7 separate regions of the Homo sapiens genome follow, and regions 1, 2, 3, 4, 6 and 7 are each linked to region 5. Evidence: promoter capture Hi-C in 16 types of primary human blood cells and fetal thymus (Javierre and others, 2016). All regions are on one chromosome and are shown on one strand. Each heading gives the region's core, a stretch centred on a gene start or on the middle of the fragment in contact. The rest is flanking DNA. Distances are from core to core; before and after follow the strand shown.

Region 1 (2,724 bases), core at 34-2,533, 600 kb after region 5:
CTATAGATAACCCGCCTCTTTTGGGGTATAGCCTTTAATTAGGAGAATCTTACACCTGAGCTAATTGTGAAAGCACACCTATGCATTTGCCTTCAACTGGCCACAAAGATTCAGCATTCCACATGATTACCGTTAAAATTAAAACGCATCCCAACCCCACCTGAAACCACTGGCTACTGAGCACTTTCTGGGCACTGTGTCCTAAACATTTTAAATGTATTACCTCAATCTCTAATCCTTTATCATAGTCTTAAGATACAAGTACAATTATTATTCTCATTTATGGATAAGGAAATGGCGGCTCAAGAAGACTAAGTAACTTTCTCATGTAACACAGCCAGTAAACGGTAGAACCAAAATCCAAACCAGAGCTTGACCCAAAAGTTCAAAGTCTTAACTCACGATGCTGCATCACCAGGAATATGACCTTGAACCCTCTGCTATTTAACTTTTATCAAGATCCCGGGGTAGGAGATAATACTCATGAAGTATGCCCAACGGACATGCAGTCCACAATTTCTCTGATGGTTAGAAACAGAAGGTTTGATCCTTTGGCTGATCCTACCACTGATCAGAACTTTTGTTTGTCTATTTGTTTTAGCTGAACTGTAAACGTCATTAGCTCTCAGCACAGACCTCATAAAAGACAGCTGTATGAGCTTCACTAATGTATTTGTCCTGACCTGTTGTTGAGCCCGCTGTTCACTACAACCCATGCCATGCTCTTCATGAAGATGAACAGGAGAAATCTTTCTTAGGGTTTACTATGAGAAAGGGCTACACTATTCTGAAGCAATATGTTTGTTTCAATTTAATAGATGTTACAAATTTGGCACTGGATTACCAAGAAGTATAATGGCCACCTGCAGCACCACGGGAACTAACCAACTAACCTTCCCTCTAGATCCATCTCACAGCTTTTATCCCTCTACCCAGCACACTATCCCTCTCTTTCTTTAGGTTGATTCCCTCAATTATTTATTCTGTTCTTTTAGTTATCTTTTTCACTTAAAATCCTTTGGGAGAACAAAGATGTATTAATCAATTTCAATGTGTTTATATTTAATAAAAACTTCTTTAAATAAACTTTTTCATGACAATCTTTACTATTTCTAGAGGAATTTCCTCAGGCTACAGCAGAAGACTAAGATTTATTTGGAGTCTGTAAGATTCTCATGAAACCCTTCCCATGGCTGTCCCTTCACTTCATCCAGAGATCTGTGCAAGCACCTCTGGGGTACTTCAGCCACCTCCCCTTTCTTTCTCATTATCACATCACACTCTCATTTCTTTTCTTTTTTCTTTTTTTTGAGACAGTCTCTCTGTTGGCTAGGCTGGAGCGCAGTGGTGCGAGATCGGCCCACCATAACCTCCACCTCCTGGGAGTTTCGCCATGTTGGCCAGGCTGGTCTCGAACTCCTGACCTCAGGTCAGATCTGCCTGCCTTGGCCTCTGAAAGTGGTGGGATTACAGGAGTGAGCCACCATGCCTGGACTCATTTCATTTTTTAGACATCCCTGAGAGGGGTGTTGCAGAGTGCTGTTCCTGTATGGGGCCAGGCAGTTGCAGGGTTGGATTCTGACTCTGCTGTTTATTAGCCTTGGGTATGAACACTTCTCTGCTCCTCAGTTTTCTCTAATGTTAATTAACTAGTCAATCAATCTACCCTACAGATCTGTAAAGAGGTTGACAGCAAATACATACTAGGTACCTGGTACACAGCAAGTACCCCATAGGCAGCAGTAACCATTACTAAGATCACTTGTTTAATGTCAAAAAACTAGTAGTAGAGGACCAGTATAAATATCCAGGCTTCTGTAATCTCTGAGCTCTTTCTATTGGCCATACCATCTCTATCTCATATTAACTCCTTAAATCCCAAAAACCCATTTTGACTCCATGGAGAAAAAAATAATTGTGTAACTGTAACCCAGTGCCTTCTGTTGGGTAGAGGCAGAAGGCAGTGCTCAGATTCTTGGTGTTTCATGGAACTTTTACAAAAAGCCCGATGCTTTCAGGGCCCTTCACTTACCTGTTTGCACCAGGTACGTGATACTAACTTCATCAACTGGGAAAAAGGCAGCAGTTGCTCCGTACTCTGGACACATGTTAGCAATCGTAGCTCGGTCAGCAATGGACAACTGGGCTACTCCAGGCCCGAAGAACTCGACAAATTTGCCCACTACCCCAACCTGGCGGAGGTGCTAAGCAGCAGAAACAACAGAAAAGTTTGAGATCTGATGGCCCACATTCAAAATGCAGAACTACCATCTTGCACTTCTTATAAACTAGTCTTGTCAGTAAACCCAAATAGTAAATCAGCCCAACACATTTGTGATCACTTTCAAAACTTAAAAAACAATGCCAACTAAATGCAACATGGTATCCTGGATTGGATTCTGGAGCAGAATTCTGGGACATTACTGAAAAAACTGGTAAAGTCTGTAGTTAAGAGTACCACACCAATGTTAACTTCTTAGTTTCGATAAATGTGCCATGGTTATTTAAGATGTTAACATTATGGGAAGCTGGGAGAAAGATAACAGGAATTCTCTGTACTCTTTATACTAACTCTCCCATAAATCTAAGATGATGTCAAATAGTTTTTATTTATAAAAAGAAAGACAAAGTGTGCCCAAAATACAAATGATATTAAGAAAAATATTTCAAGATGAGAAACATTCTCTTTCTCTAATGAGATCATTGGAAGCGTCTGGAAGTGCT
Region 2 (2,784 bases), core at 162-2,661, 650 kb after region 5:
AATTGAACAGGTTTAGTTCTAGCCCTGATGGTCAAATTAATCCGAGTGATCAACAGAGTGACATACTTATGTGAAAGTTTATGAGAAGCCAGTACACATAGGGACAGAGGGAGGATTGAAGATAAAGGCAATCTCTCACAGGTCCTGAGTATCTGTGCGCATTTTTGCTGGGTGTGCCAAGAATTCAAGGCCCTGACTGCTCTTTACCCAGGCCATTTCTCAGGGTTGTGTTTTAGTGAGCAACCATGAGGGTTTAAATTTTATAAAGTCAGGTATTTTCTTGAAAATTATTGCATTTGAGAGGGGGCAAGAAGTGAATGAGTATATAGATGAAACAATATTGTCCAAAACTTTATAATTGTTGAGTCTGGATCATGACATAATTGTGGATCATGGATGTGTGTGGGCTTAAAGAGCAGGCTTTCTTACCCCTTACTGTGAAAACAGTGAATCTCCAAGCTCAGTGTTCCCTGGCTGCAACATAAATCCATTGTATGTGTTGCATCCTTCTGGGTCCCTCTGCATCATCCTGGTGGGACTTTGAACAAGGAGACCAGATGCAACATGATACTTATGCTACTTGCTGTGTCATGAGTAATGATGGGACTCATATGACCCAGGAGTCTTGTGTCTTCTGCCAATATCCATAAAATAGTACAGGCTCTTATTAGATTACAAGTAGAGTAAAATCCCAAACTCTGACAGGTATCTGTGTTTTGGTTTTGGCTATGGTGTTTGGTTGAAATCACAAGGCACAAATTTGGCCATGTAGTTTTGTTATTACATTGAGGAAAAAATCAGCTTGTCATGTATCTGCACCAAATTTTACCAACCTGGAAATTTAGAACTTTACTATTTAGTGAATTAAAAATTTTTATTATTATTAATAATAACCATTTACAAAAGAGAATATTTTAATGAACTATGAGACTATAATAATGAACTATAATGAGAATATAATAATGATGTCTATAATAGTTTAAATATTACTCATTTTCAACAATTATCAACTCATTGCCAATTTTGCTAGTTTTATATATGCCTTCCATACCCTGACTGAAGCACATTTATAGTCATATATTTTATTTGTTATATATTATGTTTTAAAATCATTGACTAGAGTTTTCTTTGTTGTATAGTATCTGTATTCTCCATGTTTTTCAAGACCTATATTGTGAATAGAATATGTAACTTCATTAATAATACAAATAAGCATTACAATTCTCCACCTGAAATATTTTGTAGGCAACCAAAGCTGTATATAGTGGCAAATGTATAGCCTTAAGTTCTGTAGCTATTTAAAAAAAGAGAAACTAATGAAGTTAGAAAAAAACTAAGGGAAATATAAATTAGTATCACAAAATATCAATGAAGTAGAAAATATATAGAATTGACACTAATTCTGAGAACAATATCTTTGGAAAAAACATTGAAATATACAAATCTCTGACAAGTTAAATAAAAATGGGTTTAAATATGTGAACATTTATTGAGGTATATAACTACAAATATGACTGTTAGAAAACTTAATGTAATACTGTGAAATACTCCATGCAAATAATTTTGAGACTTACAAGGAGACAGACCATTTCCACAAATATATATATAAAACTTATATCCACGGTAGATTCTACTCCTCAGAGATTCAGTTGATTTTGTTTCAGGTGCTGACTTCTGTTCTTTGTTACAGTCTAAAGTCCTCCTCATGCTTAGGGATTTTGTGTCCTCTTCATATTTTTCTGAGCAACCGCATTCCTGCATCCCTGTAGGCTGTCATTATTGTCCCAGCAATATCCGACATGGGTCAATTTGTCTCCTTTCCTGGTTCTACATGGAAACCACTTGTATTAGGCCATTCTTGCATTGCTATAAAGGAAAATCTGAGATTGGGTAATTTATAAAGAAAAGAGGTTTAATTTAGTTGGCTCACGGTTCTGCAGGCTGTACAGTAAGAATGGCGACGGCATCTTCTTGGCTTCTGAAGGAAGCCTCAGGGAGCTTTTACTCACGGCAGGAGGCTAAGCAGGGGCAGGTATGTCACATGGCAAGAATGGGAGCAAGAGAGAGAAGGGGGAGATGCCACACACTTTTAAACAGCCGGATCTCACAAGAACTCACTCAGTATCATGAGGACAGCATCGAGCAGATGGCTCTAAGCCATTCATGAGTAAACCATACTCATGTTCTAATCACCTCCTACCCGGCCCTAGGACAGTGGGGATTACAGTTGCACATGAGATTTAGAGGGCACAACATCCGAGCTATATCATATCATATCACAGTAAGGCACTAGAGCAGGGGCTGGAAAACTTTTTCTGTAATGGAGCAGATAACAAATATTTTAGTCTTTGTTGGCATTACAGCTTCTCTTCCTCCTCCCTTCTCCTTCTCCTCCTCCTCCTCCTCTTCCTTCCTTTTCGTCTTCTTATTTTTACAACCATTAAAAATATAAAAACCTCTTTTAGCTCTCATGATTTATAAAACAGGTTACTGGCTGTATTTGACCTATGGGCAGTAGTTTCTGACTCCTGTACTAGAATATAGTGGCTAAAAAATACAGGCCCTAGAGCCATGTTGTCTTTAAATCCTGGGTTTGAATCTAGGATTTGTAGTTGTGTAGTAGTTGTGTCACATGTAAAAAATATTTGACATCTCTGTACCTTAATTTCCTCACCTAGAAAACAGTGGTAATAATAATTTTTACCTCATAGAGTCGTAATGGAGATTAAATAGGCCAATATGCATACTATGTTCAGAAGAGTAACTGGCACATAGTAAGTGCTC
Region 3 (2,762 bases), core at 60-2,559, 800 kb before region 5:
TTAGCCAGGTTTCATGGCGCACGCCGGTAATCCCAGCTACTCGGGAGGCTGAGGCAAGAGAATCGCTTGAACCCAGGAGGCAGAGGTTGCAGTGAGCTGAGATCGTGCCACTGCACTCCAGCCTGGCAAAAGAGTGAGACTCCATCTCAAAAAAAAAAAAAATTTTTTTTTGTTATGCATATCATAAAAGAGGCACTCTTTCTGGCTCTAGACTCACTGCTATAATGCTTTAGATAAATAATGCAAAAGTTCCAAGGAGGTTCAGTACTAAAGCACCCACACTAAGCTACAATCCTTAGCAGGAGTTATTTGAAAAGATAGTTCCAGCCGGGCATGGTGGCTGACGCCTGTAAAACCAGCACTTTGGGTGGCTGAGAAAGGAGGATCCTTTGAACCCAGGAGTTTGAGACCAGCCTGGACAAAATAGTGAGACCCTACCTCACTTAACAATACTGAAGAAAAAAAAATTAGCCGGGCGTAGTCATGCCTGTAGTCCCAGCTACTCAGGGGGCTGAGGTGGGAGGACTGCTTGAGCCTAGGATGTGGAAGCTGCAGTGAGCCATGATCACACCACTGTACCCCAAACTAAGTGACAGAGAAAGACCCTGAAAAAGTTCCTTTCAAAAGAAAGGGGGTGAACTTGTTAAAAGTCTTCATTAGCTACTGACTTGATCCACAATTTATTTTTCTAGTAACAATAAAATTCCGACTTGCTTAGGTAGCAAAATAAGAAACTACACAAAAAGATAGTAAGGCCAAAAAAGATTGTATAGTATTCAGAATGGACAGAAGAAACTATCTTTGCCCATCCTACATCTATATGGCCCAAAACTAAGAATCACGTGGATTGGCGATATTAAATAAGCGAAAGCAGGATGAATAAAAAAATTCTGTGAAATACAGGTCTCACAAATCTCCAATGCAGATCCTGTGGGTAAGAGACAAGAGCCAACTATTTCAGGGTGAAAAAGATCAGTTAGAAACCTATTAATATATAAAAGTTAAAGGAATTACAGTATGAAAAATGTAAAGAATGACTGGCAGTCCCACTGCCTTCACGAATGACTATGCCAAAAAGGGAAAAGAGTTTAACTTGAAAATAAATTATACTAAATGTTCAAGGACTAACATTTAATAAGGGAGAAGAGTGATATGGTAGGGAAAGCTTTGTGCCAACTTTCAACTGCAGCTGTAGTGAAATACACTAAAAGCCTTGTCTTAAGACAAAAGCAGTAAAATAAAAACAATGGTTTTAAACATATCCCCAGTGTCAACTGCTCATGACCATAAATTTGCCTTTTTCTAATGAACAACTAATGGGATAAAAGGCCATATAAGGGAAAAAGTAGTCGAAAATACAATCGAACAAACTTCTCACACAAGACTAAACCATAAAACCTGTTTACAAATTTTCATACATGTCAGAATTAAAGGTAAAAACACTCAAAGCTTAAGAAATCTAACATCACAAAGCACGAGATTAAATCATTCTTTTAAACAAGGACTGAAGTTCAGAAGCATTTAATTTAAATCAGTGTATTAACACAAGGAATCCTTCCATACTTCCTATTTCAGAGAGGGTTCTCCACACTCCTTTCCCAGACTTATGCACAAATATTACAACTTGCAACCCATTATTTTCTCTCATGTACAAGTTTTGTTTTGTTTTGTTTTGTTTGCTCTTGTTTTTAACTTTATTGGAGTGAGATTATTCTAACTAGTACCCATTTATTTATTTTAAATATCGGTTGTACCAAACAATGACACTTTTTGGAAATCAAACTTTATTCCACTAACATTAGCCAGCAGATTTTGCTAAACAATGTTTTGTCAGAAAAGGCATCATGGCCGGGCGCAGTGGCTCACGCCTGTAATCCCAGCACTTTGGGAGGCAGAGGCGGGTTGATCACAGGGTCTGGAGTTCGAGACCGGCCTGGCCAATATGGTGAAACCCCATCTCTACTAAAAATACAAAAATTAGCTGGGCGTGGTGGCGTGCGCCTGTAGTCCCAGCAGCTTGGGAGGCTGAGGCAGGAGAATAGCTTGAATCTGGGAGGCGGAGGTTGCAGTGAGGCGAGATCGCGCCACTGCACTCCAGCCAGGGTGACAGAGCGAGACTCCGTCTCAAAAAAAAAAAAGAAAGGTATCACATACATTCAATTTTGTACAACTAATTTTTCCAGTATGCATAAAAATTTATATTTGACAACAGAGAATATGCTTCATCATAAACACAGCAATATCTTTTCCACTTTGTTACTAATAAGTTGCATGTTTTCTTAGTAATTTTAAATACCTCCATCTGAAAAGTATAGGGTAGGCTGACCACAAAAGATGAAGCCTAACAGTTGGTAGGGGTACCGCACTTACATAATATTCTAAAAACGTGCTTTTCCTAGGTACTCAGTGACTATATACAGTAGTGAATATTAAACATTCCTGTATCAATCCCATTTCCTACAAAGTTGACCTAATTTCAAGCATAAAACTGAGGTTTCCACCTTTAGAAGGGTAGAAAACAAGAGTTAAGTAATTGGGTAGTCCTAAAAATACACATCACAACTACATGACTAAGATACTCATTTAAAACTTGTGCCAAGATAACCCCTCCCTTCCAAACTAAAATTGACTCACTGGCCTATTTTACTTAATTTTGAAAATAAAAAAATAAAACTAAATGGATTCCTAAGCACTCATTTCCTCTCTCTGCCCCCATCATTTAAAATATTCAGACTTTCAATCTGTGATTCCTCCCTGCAAAA
Region 4 (2,802 bases), core at 293-2,792, 560 kb after region 5:
AGGGGTGGGGGCTCTGCTCCATCCTCTTCCACTTATTGTAGGGACCCAGGCTCCTTCCTTGTTATGGCTCTGTCATCACAGGGGGTCTCCAAATCCTCCACTATGACCTTATCTGGTCCATTGATGAGAAATAACAAGAACATGGACAATTTTTAGGGGTCTGGTTTGGAAGAGACACACATGACCTCTGTCTACATGCCATTAGTGACAGTTTAGATTGCGAAATATAATTCAGCTGTGTGTGCCTAGCAGGAGAAAGAAACAAGATTGGTGAGCAGATAGCATTGCCTCTTTCATAGAGAAACATAATACAACTGTATTGTGGGTGGGTGTGGCAGAAAATGATTCTTAGTTTGTGTATGGGGAGGCAGACACCCCAACAGTGCACACTATTAGGGTCTTAAACTGAAGTTCAAGGCCCAACACTGCTGATAGCTAGCTTGTCAGTTTACCTCACTTCTGGAACCTCAAGCCCCTCATTTGTGTCTTTTTTTTTTTTAAGATAGAGTCTCATTCTCTTGCCCAGGCTGGAGTGTAGTAGTGCCATCATGGCTCACTGCAGCCTCAACTTCCCCAGCTCAGGTGATTCTCTTACCTAAGCCTCCTGAGTAGCTGGGGCTACAGGTGTGTGCCACCATGCCCAGCTAATTCTTAAATTTTTTGTAGAGATGGGTTCTCCCTGTGTTAACCAGGCTGATTTCAAACTCCTAGGCTCAAGTGATTCACCTGCCTTGGCCTCCTAAAGTGTTATGACTATAGGCGTGAACCACCATGCCTGGCACGACCCTCGTTTGTTAAGGGGAATCAGAGCACTTACCCTTTGACCTATAGGGCTTTATGATGCTCTGGTGAGTGAGAAGATGTGAAAATGTTTTGTCAGCTATAAATTCTTACACACATGTAAAGGTGTTACAATTAGGTGTTGATATTTCTGCAAAAATGTCTATTTCTTGGATAATATGGCTAAAGCCATACAACTAGTAAGTCCCCCAGAGCTGGGATTTGAACTCAGTCTTGTGGCAGAGTCTGAGTGTTAGATGCCACCCTAAATGTCCTTTCTGAAACAGGCATAGGAATAGATCCCACTGCCTAGGTGTGTTGTGAGATCATGGATATAAAGTACTTATCACAGTACTTGGCATATAATAAGCATTCCATAATTAGTAGCTGTTTTTTCAAGGGGGAAGTTCCCTCTTTGGTGAGTTGTATAATGCCCTCTTACTCTGACACAGGAATGACCCTCCCGGCACAGAAGTGTATATTGGATGCATTCAAAGCCAGTGGAGATCACAATATTCTGATTGCCACCTCAGTTGCTGATGAAGGCATTGACATTGCACAGTGCAATCTTGTCATCCTTTATGAGTATGTGGGCAATGTCATCAAAATGATCCAAACCAGAGGTAAGAGAAGCTTTGAGGCCATTCCTACATGGATTCTGTTTTGACTGATTTATAAGTGTATGTGTCATTCTGGCCTTTCTCTTTACTGAGCCATGGTTGAGTATGTGACCAATGGCACAGTGCACTTTGGTATCATTGGCCCTTAAGGTGGCTACAGTTTTGTTCACTAACATAAACTCTACTTTGATTCTTACAATGATGCTGCTCACTTGCCTGGCATTGACTGATATATTTATGGAAGAATAATTCCAACTTGGATTGAAGCTTTGCCAGTCAACATGTAAACCTTTCATGGTGGTGCTGGTGGGCTGAAGGGCCCCCTGTATTCAAGAAGGGATACTCCAGAGTTGTTCTGCCCCACCTGGACTTGACTAGTCTCCTAACTATTCTTTCCTCCTTTTTCCTTTTCTTCTTAAAATTCCATAAGTACAGCTATCATATTACTTTTCCTGAAAAACAGCTCGATCGTGTCACTTCCTTGTATTGAAACACCAGTGGTTCCCCAATTTACTTGATGCTAAAGAGTTTCCAAAATCCAACACCTATTTCATTCCAACTTTATTTCCCATTCTTCCCTTTTGTGCATTATCCACTTCCGCCAACCTGACTTCCTCACTTATTGCTTGTTGACGGAACTGCTCAGATACTGCTACTCTTCATTTTACCTCTTCCCCTGCCTCCATATCACCTGACCCTAATCCTCCCAGCTGGCAAAAATCTCTCTTTTGAACATATAAAGCCTATAACCTTTTATATCTGTCTTTGTAATAGCACTTAAAATTTTCCACCTATGTTTTGCTGGTTATGAAGAGATCTTATTTCCTCATTGTCTAGAAGGTTCTTGAAGGAGGGCCTGTTTACTGCTCATCTTAGAGCCATCACAGTGTCATACTGGGGGTTCATGTAGGTATCTTTAAAGCAGTGTTTCTGACAGTACGGCTGTCTAATCACCCTGCATTGTTGAGACCCTGAGAAAGCCAGCCTAAGGTGGGCTCCTAGTTTTTCCACATATTTAACATGCAGGTGCACACCTGCATTTGAGTCTTTTTTTTTTTTTTTTTTTTTTTTTTTGAGATAGGTCTTGCTCTGTCACCCAGGCTAGAGTGCAGTGGTGTAATCCTAGCTCACTGCAGCTTCAAACTCCTGGGTTCAAGCAATCCTGCCTCATGAGTTCACTCTTTAACAGCTCAACTTTCCTGGGAAGTGGGATTCAGTGAACCAAAGTTGAATTTTAGGAGTACCTCTATTTGTTTACCTATTTGCAGATTATATCAGAGCTTTAAGTCAAAAACACCAACTAAAATATTTATTTTCTAATAGGCAGAGGAAGAGCAAGAGGTAGCAAGTGCTTCCTTCTGACTAGTAATGCTGGTGTAATTGAAAAAGAACAAATAAACAT
Region 5 (2,883 bases), core at 1-2,500:
ACCCCCAAAACATCGTAGTAAGTTGTTTCTTTCACCATCTTCTACTGCCTGAAATAAGAAAATGCAACTTTAACCGGCTTTCAACTGGTAGCTTTTAATAAAAAAGAGAGCTAAGGCCGAGCAATCTCTTTGCAAAATCCGATTATAAGAACACCACCTTCCCTAAATTTCACCAAAAAGGTAACAATTCCTGCGATAATTCAGCTATAAACTCGAACAGACAAAACAAATAATCATTATCGGGAAATAATCTGAGAGCCGCCTTCTAGCAGCTGGTTCCAATTTTCCTACACCAAAGCTTCCATACTAATATAACACAACTATTATCTGGATTCTTCCCGTTTGCCCTAGAGGCGGTGACAGTTGTAACCAAAAGAAGCACTGATATGTTCAGTCTACCGGTCATTACACTATCACTGTCTTTGGCAAATCTGATAAACTCCATATACTCTCCAGAAAAAGACGTCTGGGCACACAGTGGTGGGGGGGAGTGGTTTATAGAACAGGTTACTGGCTCCACACAGCAAGCCCTCCACCGCCCACGGCTTACAGCTTCTCCAGCCGAATCCCTCTCGCCCCTCAGGCTGGCAGAGTTTACCTGCCAGGTTTCCCCTTGCACTTGGCGCTGACCGATTTCCTTCCTTTCTCCCTCCCACCCTGGACCCAAGTGGCGGTGGGGAAAGCCCAGCCCTCAACAAACAAAGGGAGGGGAAACAGAGAAAGCGAAACCAAAAGCCGCAGTCTCCGCCCGGCTCCCCCCGCAGCCCCTCGCCCCTGCCTCCCTGTGCGCGTGCGCAGGGTCGCCAACCCCACTCCCCCCCCCCACCCCGAGCGAGCACGGACGGGGAGGGGGGCCGCGGGGGCGCGCACGGAGGGGCAGCCGAAGACAGTAGCTCCTTGGAGATCCCAGGCTGGGGAAGGAGGGAGGTCTAGGAAAGGTCTCGGGCCCATTCACTGTGCGTGCCGGGGATGGGTTGCCAGGGCACCACACCAGCCCTCCAAAAGGGAAATCGTGGGCCCAGGAACTGACAGCGGTCCTACCCACGCGGCCAACTGCCTCCCGACCGCGGCTCCATCGGTTTCCCGGCGCCAATGGCGCCAGCCAGGGGACTAGGGGCAGCGCGAGGGCTCAAACTCACCGGTGCGGGCTGAGGCCGGTGTGTGAGGGAGCGGGAAGGAGCGCCGAGCTGTGCGCAGCCGGGGTAGTTACCGCTCCTCCGCCTCTCACCGAGCGTTCTGGAAAGTTCCGCCCGGCGCGCCGCAGCCGTCCTCTTTTGTAGCCGAACCCGGGCGCGTCACCCGCCGGAAGTCCCGCCCTTCTCGGCCGCTGCCACCGCCCCGCCGTTACCTGGGCAACGGCGCGGGGGCGCACGGGTCGGGAGGAGCTGCGCCGAAAGGCCTTGTGGGTGTTGGTGCTAGCGCGGCTTCCCGGCGCTCGTGGAATCTTCTGGAGCCCTTTTCTCCACTCAGCGAGCCTGAGAGTGCGGAAGTCTCCGGCTGGTGGGGCATGGCCCAGGAGCACTGCAAGTCCTAGGGTTCCCAAACCTGTGGGGTGGCCGCCTGGGCCCGCGAGGGCGGGAAGGGCTCGAGTACAGTGACCCAGCGGGAGCTGTGTGTGAACGGGAAAGCTCTTGGAACAGTCTTGCCCCCCCCCCCCCCCCTCTTACGGGCGCCTCTTCTCTTTTTGGGAACGTGGCGAGCAAAAAATGCTTGAGCCAGGTGGGTCTAGTCCCCAGACCAATAGCATAGGCCTTGGGTCTTGCTGTTTTTCACGCGTGGTCCAAGGCGGCATAATTAATCAAATTGTGAAGTTGTTAAGGCTTTTTGTGCAAGTCCAGGCCCCTAGACACATGTTATCTGCCCTGGACCTCGCTGATTCGTGCAGATTGAGCTCAGTGTGTCTGGGACTGAGCTAAACAGTGAGACGTTTGGACCGTCTTTGATGTACAGAGGGCCGTGGACTCCTCTGGTCAGGTTTTCACCCAGTTTGGCTACAGAGTAGCCGCAAGAGTGTCTGACTAAAACAATTTGTTTAATTATTTGACCTCACTTTTAAATCCTACGGGTCAGGGAACCTGGATGTACAATCTGCAACGTAAGACCTCGGACTTGAAAATGGTACCACGGGGGCTTAATGGGAATTGGGGTCCGCTTCTTTATCCAGGGACACAGCAGGTATGTCAGTATCTAGCACCAAGAAAGATGGAGTTTGCCACGCTCGGTGGCTCACGTGTGTAATCCCAGCACTTTGGGACGCCAGCGTGGGCTGATTGCGTGAGCTCAGAAGTTTGATACCAGCCCAAGCAACATGGTGAAACCCCGTCTCGATTTAAAACAAAAACAGAACTGGAGATGCAGAGTTGAAAAGCCCCAGTTAGACTTTAGTGAGAAGCCAAACAAGTCAACAGACTGCCAGAGAAACCATGAGGTAGAAGTCAGTAGGGGAGAGCCTCCTATATTAACCTGATAGATCAGAGAGAATTTCTTTGGGAAAGTGGCAATTGAGCTGAGTTTTGAAAATGGGAGGAGAGCAGTGGACAAAGCACAGGGGAAGGCTATACTAAGGTGTGGAAGAATATGATGTTTTTAGGAAATTGCAACTAATTGGATATAGCCATAGCTAAGGGAGCTAGAATAGCCGGAGGTGAGGCTTCAAAGCTAGTTAGGGCATGCCTTTGTCTGTTGGTATATATGCTACGCTAAGAATTTTGAACTTTATCCTTGGAAGCATCCTCATGCTGCCTCTTCAGCCTTTTCTCTTTCATTAATTTTAACTGTGCATTCCAGTCACAGAACTATCCGCAGTTTCCCATATACGCCTTTTCACCTTTGTATGCTTTTGCATTGGCTGACAGACACCTGATTTTTTTCAATCTTAGGTGT
Region 6 (2,794 bases), core at 187-2,686, 590 kb after region 5:
GAGAACATTTCTATTTTCCTCAGAGCAAAATAACCAATTAAAATAATAGGTGTGATGTTCAAAGACATTATCAGAAGCCTAAATGTCTGGAGAACTGCCTGCCAGACAGCCACATTTTTTTACTGTACTTGTGGATATGAACTTAGTGTTTCCGAGGTGCATTAATTTGCGAGCCACAAATGATTTAAATTGACATCAGGTAAGCCATGTGTACCCCACCCTGAAGATTCAGGCTGGGTGGCATGATTCTTCTCTGCTTTTAGGGCAAGCAAATGCTCAAGAGGCAAAAGCTCTCTGCTCCCTGCATGGCCCCTTCTATGGGGACACCTCAAGAGGTAGAGCCCCGAGATGGCGGAAGGTTCTAAAGAGCTGCCTGGGTATGTGCAGAGTGAGTTTCACTCTCATCGAGAGCCCATAAGCAGATATTCATAGGCAGTGAAGTGCAATTATAAAAAGTGATTCTCCCAATTTTCCAGGAGACTTAGAACCCATTCTTGCCAAAGTAACTCCTGAAAAAGTCCAGGCTCCTTTTCTCTTCTGTGAAACTGACAGATAATACAATGGCCCTGGCTTATTCCTGACATTCACCTGGAACAAGGGACCTGAATAAATTTGGGGTCCTCAGCCTCTGAGAATGTTATAAAAGCCATGACACCTCTCCCCATGAAAGACATACATGTATACTTCTGGATATGTTTTCAGAGACTTCACAGACCCTACCCCAAAACTGTTCTATAGACATGCCCCCAAGGTCCATTAATGAATGATAGATCCAGTTCAACTCTGCATTGCCCTTCACCAAATAAAATAAATCCAGAGGCACCAAGAAGCAGGCCAGGAATAAACACTACCTGCTTTTTTGAGCTTGCTCTTCCTTGACATCTTCTTGGAAAGTAAAGCAACAGGATTTGTGCCTGGGGACCCTCCCAGTTCAGAGGGGAGCTGCCTCCTAGGATGTCTACTTCATACTCACCAGCAGGAAAGGGCCCTTAGCTGCCCAGTCTCGGGAGCTGCCTGCACCGTACTCTTTGCCAGCCAGAACGATCAGGGGAAGGCCTGCCTGCTGGTACCGCTCAGCAGCATCAAACACATCAAGCTGAGGAAGAGAAAAGGAAGTTTTACAGATGCAGGAGAGGCAAAGAATGGACACAGGTCCCCTGAGCCCTGGTGAGGGCGGGGCTGGATGGGTTTGCAGATGGCCAAATCCGTCCAATCATCTTGTCTACAAATTCCCAATTATCTTGATCTTTTTACTTCTACCAAATTAAATTTTGTATTCTTTTTTTTTTTTTTGAGATAGAGTTTCACTCTATTGTCTAGGCTGGAGTGCAGTGGCACGATCTCAGCTCACTGCAACCTCCACCTCCCGGGTTTCAATTGATTCTCCTGCTCCAGTCTCCCAAGTAGCTGGGATTACAGGCGCACACCACCATACCCAGCTAATTTTTGTATTTTTAGTAGAGATGGGGTTTCACCATGTTGGCCAAACTGGTATTGAACTCCTGACCTCAAGTGATCCTCCCACCTCGGCCTCCCAAAGTGCTGGGATTACAGGCGTAAGCCACTGCATCCGGCCTTAAATTTTGTATTCTTAAAAACCATTTTATATTCTTTTGACAGAAATGCCTAATTGTTGTTGGTTTTATAAAAACATTAGAATCCTAAGGCATCAGGGGAGAAAAGGAAACTAGATCAGATTTTTTCTTTTCCATTGACTAAATTATTTTAAAACTCAAAAAACAGAATGTGACCTAAACATTTTGGCTCAATATCAGAAACTCGGTGATGTCAGTTGTAAAATTAGCAAAACACAAAGAAGGTAACATGTTCTGAAATTATATAAAGTGCAAACTTTTATCAGTCCCCTTTCTTCATGGAGGTCAAGGGAAGAGATGCTAGAAATGCAAATGGAAGCCCAATAAAAGGTAGAAAAAGATTAATATTTTAGTACATGAGAAACATCTTATACAAACAGATTTGTTTCTCACAGGGAATCTGAATATCTCACTGAACTGAGACTTTACAAAGACATGATATCATCTCTGGTGGTTGAGCAGTACCATTATTTTTCCAGGCTATGTAAGTCAGAAGATAAAATTCCTCAAAAGAGAGACAGGAGCTAAAGAAAACTCTCAAACAGACTTTCACAAATTTGTATTTTGGTGTACTGATGGAACCTGTGGTTAATTTCGCATGCATTACCTAAACCCGGATAGGATTCTGTATGTCTTCAGCTAGACAGAACTCGTAAATATAGAAACTGTCATAGAAACAGTGAAAACCTTCTTCTAACTGAATTGTCTGGATCCTTTCAAAGACCAGAAAGAAACAACTTATCTGATATTTTCAGAGACTGTAGCTTTGGGTATTAACAATGTGAGAGTGTGTGCTTTAAAAAGTACTGCAAAGTTGACAATCTCATGGCAAAGCACGTCATGTTACCCAAGATCAGAGGGACTAAGCAGGTCTAGAACTCACGTCTCCTGACTTTTCTATTAAACACGCCATGCTGAGAGCCACTGACAGCTTAGAAAGCAACAGCTCCCTGCACTCTTACGCTCTTCTAAAGAGAACATAGCATTTAGCTATTTCTTCTGTTACTGTGCCTGTGTATCTCTAGGTATTATGTTTAAACTACTAGTTCTTGATTTCTCCACTTTTTAAAATTATCTGTCAATATTCTACTTTGAGGATTTACTTCTCTTAACAATCTCTCCTCTTCCACACATCTCCCTTCTTCCCAACCTCCCAATATAGTTATTTTGGTAAGTCAGCATTTGGTGTTTGCATGATT
Region 7 (2,835 bases), core at 147-2,646, 620 kb after region 5:
TGAATGTGGACATTTTGGAGATGGCAGAGTATCTAAATATATATGGTGTTTTTCTTTTTTGAAAGAGGGAAGAGTTAGCATATATCACACTATTTGGGGTTGCTGCTTTCTTTGTTCTATAGAATGAGATGATACTACATGGTGGCAAGAAGAGAAAAGAGGAGAAGAAAAAAGAAAAAAAAAAGAAGGAAGGAATGGGAAATGGTATCTTTTAAGGTACAAGGTGGGAGCAATTATTCAGAACTTGTCCCTCCGGGACGCTTGTCAGAATGATGAAGACAGCTGAACACTTGTCCCTGGCCACTGAATCAAGGAAGACAGATGAACAGTTCTTAAACAAAAGGAATAAAAACGGAGCTACTGTATCTGAAACCCTTCATTACATGTAGTTCACATTCTGAAAGTCAAGATAATTATTTGGTAGAGAAACAGTGTCTTTCAAAGCTAACCCATCCTGAAATACTAGCTGGGTGACTTGTACAGGGTTATGATTAGCACAGGTACACTCTGCATGCAAGAACGGGGGTGGGCATGGACAGTCTGAACACCAGATTTTTAAAGTAGGTCACTAAAAAATAACAAATATTATGCAAAGGCAGGCAGAACTAGGGTAAGACATTTAACAAATGAGCCATGCTCCCAGTAAAAGGGTGGGAGGAGTGAAGAGCTAGGGTTTTTCCCCAACCACAGTCTTGCTACCAACTGACCTTTGGCTCAATTGAGGACACTTGCAGGTGCCTTGGAGTAGCACCTTTTGTGCATACATAGCATGGCACTAAGGCATGGCACCAACCTGTCACCATTCCCTAGGGACACCTTGACCTTAGGTGCTAAGGAGGTAATGAGACATAGAATGTTGAGTTTTTAGTAAAGAACCTTAGCAATCATGTAGCATTCCCCAGAGGAAGACAGAGAGGCCCTGAAAAGCAACTGACTGCCTAGGGTCACAGGACTCATTAGTGGGATAACCAGAAAAAAAAAAAAATACAGCTGATTTGCCCTCCAGTGAAATGCAAATTTCCCTCAGGGGGAAAAAAAAAACCCTTAAAATCTTTCACAGGTAGAGTTGAAAAAAGTACTACCTAGGTGTATCACAGTCTTTTGGTGCTTCTGTGATGTTAGTTCTATAATCACTTACTAAAACTTCCATGTGTTTCAGAATTCCAGAGAACTGACAGCTAAACTTTGGAAAAACAACTTAAATTTAGGTTTCTGATGATCTGCCCTGGGTGCCACTTTTTTCCAAAAGCCACAGTAAGGGCAAATCAATTTTCCTGATATAATATTGCGTATACAATCCCTTACTCAGATTCAAGATACAAAATGTTAGTAAAGGCTCACATTAAATGATATGAGAATTTTAAAGTTGCAAAATAATATATATATGTATATACTAGGATCTGATTTAAGTGAAAAAAAAAAAAAACTTCAAGACCATTAGTGTATATTCATTCATACACACACACCATTGCATATGCAAATGCACAAAAAAGAAAGACATAAAGTTAACATGGATTACAAATAGAATAACACATTGTATAAAGGGGAGACTTTAGCTTTCTATGTTTCATACTCCTGTATTATTCAAATTCTATTTTTGATAAGCATGCATTCATTTACTACTTACTTCTTAAAACACTGGAGCGGTCATTTAAACTTTGTACATAAATACCTACATTAGCATCTCTATAAAATGAGAACTTGACATCTTCAGCAATACCCTTTGAAAGAAAGATAGAATGGTCCGTAAAGTTCCTGGAACTACAAATGCAGATCTTTCTTTAATAATGACTGGTGAAGATGTATTTAAATTTGTGACTATAACTCCAGATAAAGTCCACTTTGCTCCCCTCAATATGTCCTTTGATATTCACCAACAGAGAGAAAGAGCTGTGAAGAGAATCCCTGAATGGCTCAAATTTAGCCTTAGATGAACAGTGCCACACCTCATTCAAGTCAAACACACTAATCCAAGGGGGGCCCTCCCTTCCCACCCCATCCCCAGCTCCCTTTCCAATCTCAGCAGGATACCAAATTTGTTACTGAACCACATCTTCTTGGGTGGTGGTAACTTTAAAAAATATTACACTAAGGAATAGATACAGCCAGGCGCAGTGGCTTACACCTGTAATCCCAGCACTTTAGGAGGTCGAGATGGGCGGATCACCTCAGGTCAGGAGTTTGAGACCAGCCTGGCCAAGGTGGTGAAACCCTATCTCTACTAAAAGTACAAAAATTAGCCGGGCATGGTGGCACACACCTGGAGTCCCAGCTACTCAGGAGGCTGAGGAAGGAGAATTATTTGAACCCAGCAGGCGGAGGGTGCAGTGAACCAAGATCGTGCCATTGCACTCCAGCCTGGGTGACACAGCGAGACTCCATCGCAAAAAAAAAAAAAAAAAAAAAACAGAAAAAGAAAAAAATAAAAGAAATAGATGCTCACTGTAGCAACAACAGAAAATGCAGGTGAGCAAAAAGAACAAAATAAAATCCTTTGTAATACCATGATTTACAGTTTCATTTACCATGACTTTTAAACGCATTTGAATTTTTCAAAAAAAAAAAATCACTAGACCTCACATTGTTTTGCTAATTGCTTTTTTTCACTCAACAATAAACCTCAAATATCTTAATAGGACAATCGTGTGATATTTTACAGCACTTTAAACTATACCATAAAAATCTATCCTTCAGATATATAACAATTTCCCTATTATTAAAATACTTAGGTTGTTTCCAAGTACTAGCATTCAAACAATGATGCCTTGTATACTCACATCGTTAGTAGGTCCTTAAATCATTTCTTTCAAATAAATTTCTAGCTTTCAGTTCCTA

Evidence for each region. Contacts are between HindIII fragments. The CHiCAGO score rates a contact against its expected background, and 5 or more counts as called.
Region 1: a contact is called between a fragment that was not itself captured here and the fragment with the promoter of DNAJA1 in region 5, in 4 of 17 cell types (endothelial precursors, M1 macrophages, M2 macrophages and 1 more). The highest score is 7.7, in endothelial precursors.
Region 2: a contact is called between a fragment that was not itself captured here and the fragment with the promoter of DNAJA1 in region 5, in 1 of 17 cell types (erythroblasts). The highest score is 5.0, in erythroblasts.
Region 3: a contact is called between a fragment that was not itself captured here and the fragment with the promoter of DNAJA1 in region 5, in 1 of 17 cell types (fetal thymus). The highest score is 7.7, in fetal thymus.
Region 4: a fragment that was not itself captured here is called in contact with the fragment with the promoter of DNAJA1 in region 5 in 4 of 17 cell types (M1 macrophages, M0 macrophages, M2 macrophages and 1 more); the score reaches 9.9 in M1 macrophages.
Region 6: a contact is called between a fragment that was not itself captured here and the fragment with the promoter of DNAJA1 in region 5, in 4 of 17 cell types (endothelial precursors, M1 macrophages, M2 macrophages and 1 more). The highest score is 8.9, in endothelial precursors.
Region 7: a contact is called between a fragment that was not itself captured here and the fragment with the promoter of DNAJA1 in region 5, in 5 of 17 cell types (M2 macrophages, M1 macrophages, M0 macrophages and 2 more). The highest score is 13.7, in M2 macrophages.

The regions. Positions count from the first base shown.
Region 1 is chr9:32,420,336-32,423,059 of GRCh38, reverse strand. ACO1 (aconitase 1) reads right to left here. Exons shown (of 21, transcript NM_002197.3): 8 at 2,033-2,204. Among named protein-coding and RNA genes, the nearest start is that of ACO1, 37 kb to the right of the region's middle. The HindIII fragment of the contact is 5,989 bases long and covers 1-2,724 here.
Region 2 is chr9:32,369,264-32,372,047 of GRCh38, reverse strand. No RefSeq gene overlaps it. Among named protein-coding and RNA genes, the nearest start is that of ACO1, 14 kb to the left of the region's middle. The HindIII fragment of the contact is 7,926 bases long and covers 1-2,784 here.
Region 3 is chr9:33,819,021-33,821,782 of GRCh38, reverse strand. All of the region lies in intron 1 of UBE2R2 (ubiquitin conjugating enzyme E2 R2), which reads right to left. Among named protein-coding and RNA genes, the nearest start is that of UBE2R2-AS1, 1.5 kb to the right of the region's middle. The HindIII fragment of the contact is 284 bases long and covers 1,168-1,451 here.
Region 4 is chr9:32,466,363-32,469,164 of GRCh38, reverse strand. RIGI (RNA sensor RIG-I) reads left to right here. Exons shown (of 18, transcript NM_014314.4): 15 at 1,233-1,403; 16 at 2,724-2,802. It overlaps LOC124902138 (a long non-coding RNA gene), which reads right to left and starts at 550. Exons shown (of 2, transcript XR_007061449.1): 1 at 1-550. The HindIII fragment of the contact is 254 bases long and covers 1,416-1,669 here.
Region 5 is chr9:33,023,640-33,026,522 of GRCh38, reverse strand. DNAJA1 (DnaJ heat shock protein family (Hsp40) member A1) reads right to left here and starts at 1,250. Exons shown (of 9, transcript NM_001539.4): 1 at 1,140-1,250; 2 at 1-48. The coding sequence starts at 38. It also overlaps a transcript of APTX not described here. RefSeq lists enhancers at 600-669, 626-1,220, 1,198-1,492, 1,815-2,410 and silencers at 770-909, 1,190-1,339. The HindIII fragment of the contact is 3,848 bases long and covers 301-2,883 here.
Region 6 is chr9:32,438,767-32,441,560 of GRCh38, reverse strand. ACO1 (aconitase 1) reads right to left here. Exons shown (of 21, transcript NM_002197.3): 19 at 974-1,096. Among named protein-coding and RNA genes, the nearest start is that of ACO1, 56 kb to the right of the region's middle. The HindIII fragment of the contact is 3,679 bases long and covers 1-2,794 here.
Region 7 is chr9:32,399,539-32,402,373 of GRCh38, reverse strand. The region is part of intron 1 of ACO1 (aconitase 1); the gene reads right to left. Among named protein-coding and RNA genes, the nearest start is that of ACO1, 16 kb to the right of the region's middle. The HindIII fragment of the contact is 7,739 bases long and covers 1-2,835 here.